Regions from separate parts of the Homo sapiens genome. Here region 1 is linked to region 2. Evidence: promoter capture Hi-C in human tissues and cell types (Jung and others, 2019). All regions are on one chromosome and are shown on one strand. Each heading gives the region's core, a stretch centred on a gene start or on the middle of the fragment in contact. The rest is flanking DNA. Distances are from core to core; before and after follow the strand shown. Region 1 overlaps SDK1 (sidekick cell adhesion molecule 1). Region 2 holds the start of SDK1 (sidekick cell adhesion molecule 1).

What was found. Contacts are between HindIII fragments. The study calls those that stand out against the background at their distance.
Region 1: a fragment that was not itself captured here is called in contact with the fragment with the promoter of SDK1 in region 2 in 2 of the 25 tissues and cell types used here (IMR-90 fibroblasts and dorsolateral prefrontal cortex).

What each region holds. Positions count from the first base shown.
Region 1 is chr7:3,776,928-3,779,627 of GRCh38, reverse strand. The region is part of intron 4 of SDK1 (sidekick cell adhesion molecule 1); the gene reads right to left. Among named protein-coding and RNA genes, the nearest start is that of SDK1-AS1, 430 kb to the right of the region's middle. The HindIII fragment of the contact is 3,678 bases long and covers 1-2,700 here.
Region 2 is chr7:3,299,979-3,302,678 of GRCh38, reverse strand. SDK1 (sidekick cell adhesion molecule 1) reads right to left here and starts at 1,427. Exons shown (of 45, transcript NM_152744.4): 1 at 795-1,427. The coding sequence starts at 1,092. It overlaps SDK1-AS1 (SDK1 antisense RNA 1), which reads left to right. Exons shown (of 3, transcript XR_001744897.3): 1 at 1-450. RefSeq lists enhancers at 626-1,126, 1,836-2,347, 2,348-2,700 and a silencer at 1,401-1,950. The HindIII fragment of the contact is 11,292 bases long and covers 1-2,700 here.

The DNA of each region.
Region 1 (2,700 bases), core at 69-2,568, 480 kb before region 2:
TTTGAATATTTTAGTTTAGTTGCAGATTCTTATTTTAAATAGTATTAGAGAAAAGGAGAAGCAATATAAAGATCGTCAATATCCAAATATGAAAACGGTTTTCCAATCACCGATGTTTAAATATAAACAGGTCAGATTTGGTTAAATTTGTCCTTGTTTTTTTTTTTTAAAAAAAATAGGTTACTGGCTTTGCCACACCACTTCACAAACAAAAATCAACTACTGTTCGATGTCTCCCATCTGTCTCAGAATACGTTGTCATTCTGGTAGCTACAATGCAAAAGACGGAGCTGCCTTGCTCTTATCCACTCAAGAATGGGGATTTATTGCAGGCCATTTTTAAACTACTCTAGCCCTAACGTAATTGCTTTCTGAAGCGTAGGAGAGACAAGTTGGCCAACTCCAGCTCTGTATTCATTTTATTCACAATTTCTTGGACCAGATGGTATACCTAGTCCTAAAGATAGTGTGTTTATTTTTTCACATCAATCAATTTAAAATAATATAATCAGAAAAGAAACTCCGCAGAATTCTTAGCCAAATGATAAAAAAGGAACATCCATAATTTAATACTGCCTTTGTTAATTTCATTTTACTCTAAGGCATTCAATTAAAGTGTCATGCAATAAAAGCTGCTGCTACAATGGAATCTCAAATCCTATTAAGTGTCAAGGATGTTAAACCTACAAAACTAACAGATTCTTTAGTCTGAAACCATTTAGGTACTTTATAGTGCTGCCAGCTAGTCTCCCACCTGAGTAGTGTTTTACTGGAAAGGCGGTCTATAATTTGTAATCATTGAAGCACTTTGAAATCGACCCTGCAGGGCCCTTCAACCTTATTCAGTTTACATTAAATAATTATGAACTCATCATTTTGTTTAAGCTTATGTTTAAAGTCAGCCATTCCGCCAAGTATACTCTGTTAAGATTAAATATATTTTAGTTTACGGAACATGGTGGATTCACGTTTGATCTAAAAATACTTCAACCTACTATAAGCATACGTGAAGTGCTTTCGCTACAATGAAATACAAAACATACACTTATGCTGTCAGTGTAAAAATATAGATGTGTGCAGGCAGCCTGGTCAGATCTGTAGAAATAACTGTTAGATGAAACAAAAACATTCTCTGGGTCTATTTGCCAGATGTAAAAAGATAGAAAATACGAACTTTAACCCAGAGAGTTAAGAAACCGTGCAATGGGAAATAGCGTTTCTCAAGGAGGCTTTTTGTTCAAAGCCAAAACACTTAACAAAAGCATTAGTTTTAAAATCTAAGCCATGAGGGCATTTTCTAAAATATAGTATCACCTTGCTTTTTCATGCTGAGATATTTTCTTTAGGAAACTACTATTAAAATATGGACTAATATAAGTTAGGAAAAAAAAACCTCCAGCTTCAAATGAAACTTCTTTCTTAATAAGGAAAACAAACATTTGCTTAAAGGTGGGAAGACTTTCATTTTATACACTACTGGTTGCTACAAGATGGGAGACACGACGGCATGGGAAATGCATTGCTCTACTTGATTTTTATGGGCAAAAAAAATGTTACTTTGTCAGAAAGGAAGGCAAGACAATAACCAACAAAAACTTCAAACTACTTATGTAAAACAAAATCATGTTAGAAAATGTCAGCTGCCAAATCACAATGTCCATCATTCCCTGCTGATCCTTTCTCAGCATGAAGCTGTGGCTTTTATTGTTTATAATTAGGGGAGAAGAAAAAAGAAAAGGACCATGTCTCCTTTTGTAATTGACCTATATTTTTTAGCAACACTTTAAGGACGACTTTCTGTAAAGTCTCTAAGCTTATGATAATGATTGCAAAGTAATATATACATGTGCAGTGTGGTGTGGCATGGGAAGTTTTAAGCTTATGATAATGATTGCAAAGTAATATATAGATGGGCAGTGTGGTGTGGCATGGGAAGTTTTAAGCTGGTGGTCAATCGAAAATATGTGAATACCCACCCTGGACTCACAGCTACATATCACACCAGTAGCTAAGAGGGGACACTGTTGGCAGAGGGGGCTCAGGTCCTTTAGAAGCCTGCTGCTGGGCACATCAGGAGGAATGCTGTGGCAACCTGAGTACAAGGACACAGGCCTGGGTTCTGGTTCCAGCTCAGCCACAGGTTGGCTAATTCCCATCAGAAAATGTCTCCTCATCTGTAAAATGACAACCATCCTACCGGCCCTGACGATCTCACAAGGTGAGGATCAAACTGGATTATATGAGTAAACACTTTGATAGCCATAAAGTCTTCCTCAAACATGCAACTATTTGGAAAAAGGCTTAGGAATATCTATTAAACAGGATGCCAATAAGGGCAAATTAGTGCACTGCATCTGAATATCAAGGCTGGAACGAAAGTCACTTGAAGATCAAACTCGCGTTCTGCACAGGTCTGCAGTTAGAGCATACATTTTACGTCTCAAGAGTCTTCATCACAACAAAGTTTACAGCCCTACAGTGACACTTTTATCTCATCCAATGTAAGCGCCAAGGGGGTTGAGAGTAAAATCAGAAAGAATGAGTTACAAAATAGATTTTAGAGAAAAATATCATCACAATTACCAGTGAGGAAGCAGGTATCTGAGGCGCTGGGGCAGAAGAGAGGTGAACGTGAGCAAGTGTGTGTGGGGGTGGAAACAGATCTTTCTTCCTGGATCACAGTCCGTGTGGGTATACACC
Region 2 (2,700 bases), core at 178-2,677:
CTTCAAAAGAAAACGATGCTAGCTGGCAGGGGTACGTTACGGGTTTTGTCGGGGGCGGGGAGGGGGTGGAGGGAAGCCCAGATTTGGGAAGGAAAGCTCGTTTCACAAGAGATCCCATCTCTCGTTTCAAAAGGTCATTTCCATTCAGCAGATCCTCTTTCCCTATTTCAGAGCTCACCACTGTATTCTAAACAGAAGCCAATAGAGGGAGAAAAACAAAGCCAAGTGCAAAAGCTGTGGGCACTGAAAGTTTTGCTCCACCGGCCGCGCAGCACCCACTTGGGGTCGGGCTTTGGGACTTGGGGGAGTCAGGAGCAGGCGGGGGCTGGGGAGAGGACGAGGCCCTGGGGAGGGGCTGGAAAAGGCTTTTCACAGCGACTGGCACTTGATATTTCCAAGTCTTCTGGATGTCACTCACCGGAAACCAGACCCTGCGGTGCGAAGACTCAGGTACAGACCAGCCCCTTTTTCATCCATGCAATGGGAAGGGGACTCGGGCATCCTTTTAAGGAGCTGAGAAATGGGTCCTCAACTTAAAAATTTTTGTTTGTGCTACTGCGGTATAAAAAAAATAAAACGCAAAGTAGCAGACGGGGTGCAGGCTCTACGGGGCTCCGTTTCCCTCTCCTCCGAGTCTGGCGTGGAGGAGCCCCTGGGCTCCCTAGAGCCCCCAGCAAGGCGCATCCCGACCCGGGCCGGGAAGCGGGGGGACCCCGGACACACTCTCGCTGCTCAAGTTCGCGCCTCCGCGCCCCGAGGCGACGCCCCCGGCCCGCGACCCCGCGCGCACCTACCTTGCGCCAGCGCCCGGAGCAAGTGCAGCTGCAGCGCCAGCAGCGCCCACCAGCCGCGGCGGCCCGGCCCCAACTTTGCCGCCCGCCGCCCGCCGCACCGCCCCGCGCCCGCCGTGTCCCCGCCGGAGGTCTCGGGCGCCGCCCGGGGTCGCGAGGGCTCCGGGCCGGGGCGCGGCGCCAGCGAGGGGCGGGCGCGGCCGGGCGGGGATCCCCGCGGCCGCCCGGGGCCCGCGCGCTCAGGGGGCTCCGCGCCGCCGCCGCCGCCACCGGCCGCCGAGGGCCGGGCGCCCCGGGCCATGCCGAGCAGCCGCCACCCCGAGCGCCGCGCCGGACGGACGGGCGGGCAGGACAGGCGGGACGGCTCCGAGCGGGCGCGGCCACTCCGCGGGAGGCGCGGCGCCCCCCGGCCCGAGGTGAGCGGCCGCCCAGCGCTGAGGGGCGGCGTCCTGGGTCCCCGCGTGAGGGGCGCGGCGCGGGCCGGGGACGAGCCGGGCGAGAAGAAGTTGTCAACGGGGGAAATTCGCGTCCGGCGCTCACGCAGTCCCGAGCCCGCCGCGCTAGCTCCGAGGGGTCCGCCGGGCGCGGAGGAGCCGCCGCCGCCGCCGCCCCCGCCCGGCGCTGAGAAGAAAGTGCGCCCGCCCGCACGTCGCGGTCGCGCTCGCCCTCAGCTGCCGCGGCCGCCGCTCCCCATTCACAGCCCGGCCGCACGCGCCGCCCGCGCCCGCCGCCCGCCGCCCGCCGTTGATTGGCCGAGGGAGGCGGCGCCCGCTCCCAGGGCCCGCCCCCCAGGCCCTCGCTTGTTTTCAAAGTCGCGGCGCCCGCCCGCCTGCAATTTTGTGCCGGCCGCGGCGCCTGGCTCGGGCGGCTTCCCGCGCCGGCTGCGCCCCCTAGGGACCCGTAGTGGGGACTGCAGGCGGCGTCGATTCGGCACGCGCTCCCGTGGCGGGCTCGCGGGCGGGGGTGGTGCATCCTCGCCCGGCCCCGCAGCGGTGCGGGCGCCCGAGTGGGAAGGGCTCAGGTGCAGCAGGACGCGCAGATCGTGCGGCAGCCCAGGGCCGAGGGCGGAATAGGGCGCGCCCCGAGAGGCGCCCGGCTACCACCAGCTAGCTCAGTGCTTGGGGGTGACGCGCCAAGTTACCGTAATTGCAAACACGCGCAATCGGGTTTTTAATTTCTAGCAACCAAAGGCACCACTGGGTGCAAACTCGCCTCCTGTTCAGAGGAGTGGATATGGCATTGTAGAAGCGTCCAAGGTCACTTTTGGCCGGCGCTGGAGGAGGGCGGGGTAGGGAGGGACACATTGCAGGTTTCCCACCGTGGAGTGGGCGAGTCTTGGGGCAGGGTCGGCCAGTGGGAGGGTCTCCCAGGGCGGGACCCGGGAGCCTGTGGGGCTGGGGGTGGGGACGGGCGCCGACGCTCAGCATGTGGTAAGCATTAGCAGAGTTTATGGGGTGAACTAAGCGCACTGGAGGCTGAAAGGCCAGCATTTTTGTGGGAGGAGAGCTGGAGGTGACACGCACTGCCTCTGGAGTTGGCCCGGGAGGAGCCTGGGGACGTGTGATGATGGTCGCATGAGATCATGTAAGAGATGAACGCAGAGGGGCTGGGTGTGAGCCCAGCACGGGGCTGACTCCCCAGGAATCACCTGATGCAGTAGGTTTATTGTCCCAGCCAAGAAAGACCCCGGGCGAGTGGAGAGCAGGTCACAGGGCTGGGGTCTGGGATAGGAGCCAGCTCCTGCTCACAGAGCGCCTATGGTATTTGTCAAATAACTGATTGGTGGCTCAATATTAGCCTCTGTACACGTCCCCTAAGACTTAACAATGACCACGTGAACAAAACAGGGAAACTGAGGTCCAAGTACAGCCGCCGAACAGGAGGTGGTTTCAGAAAGAGGCCTCCCATC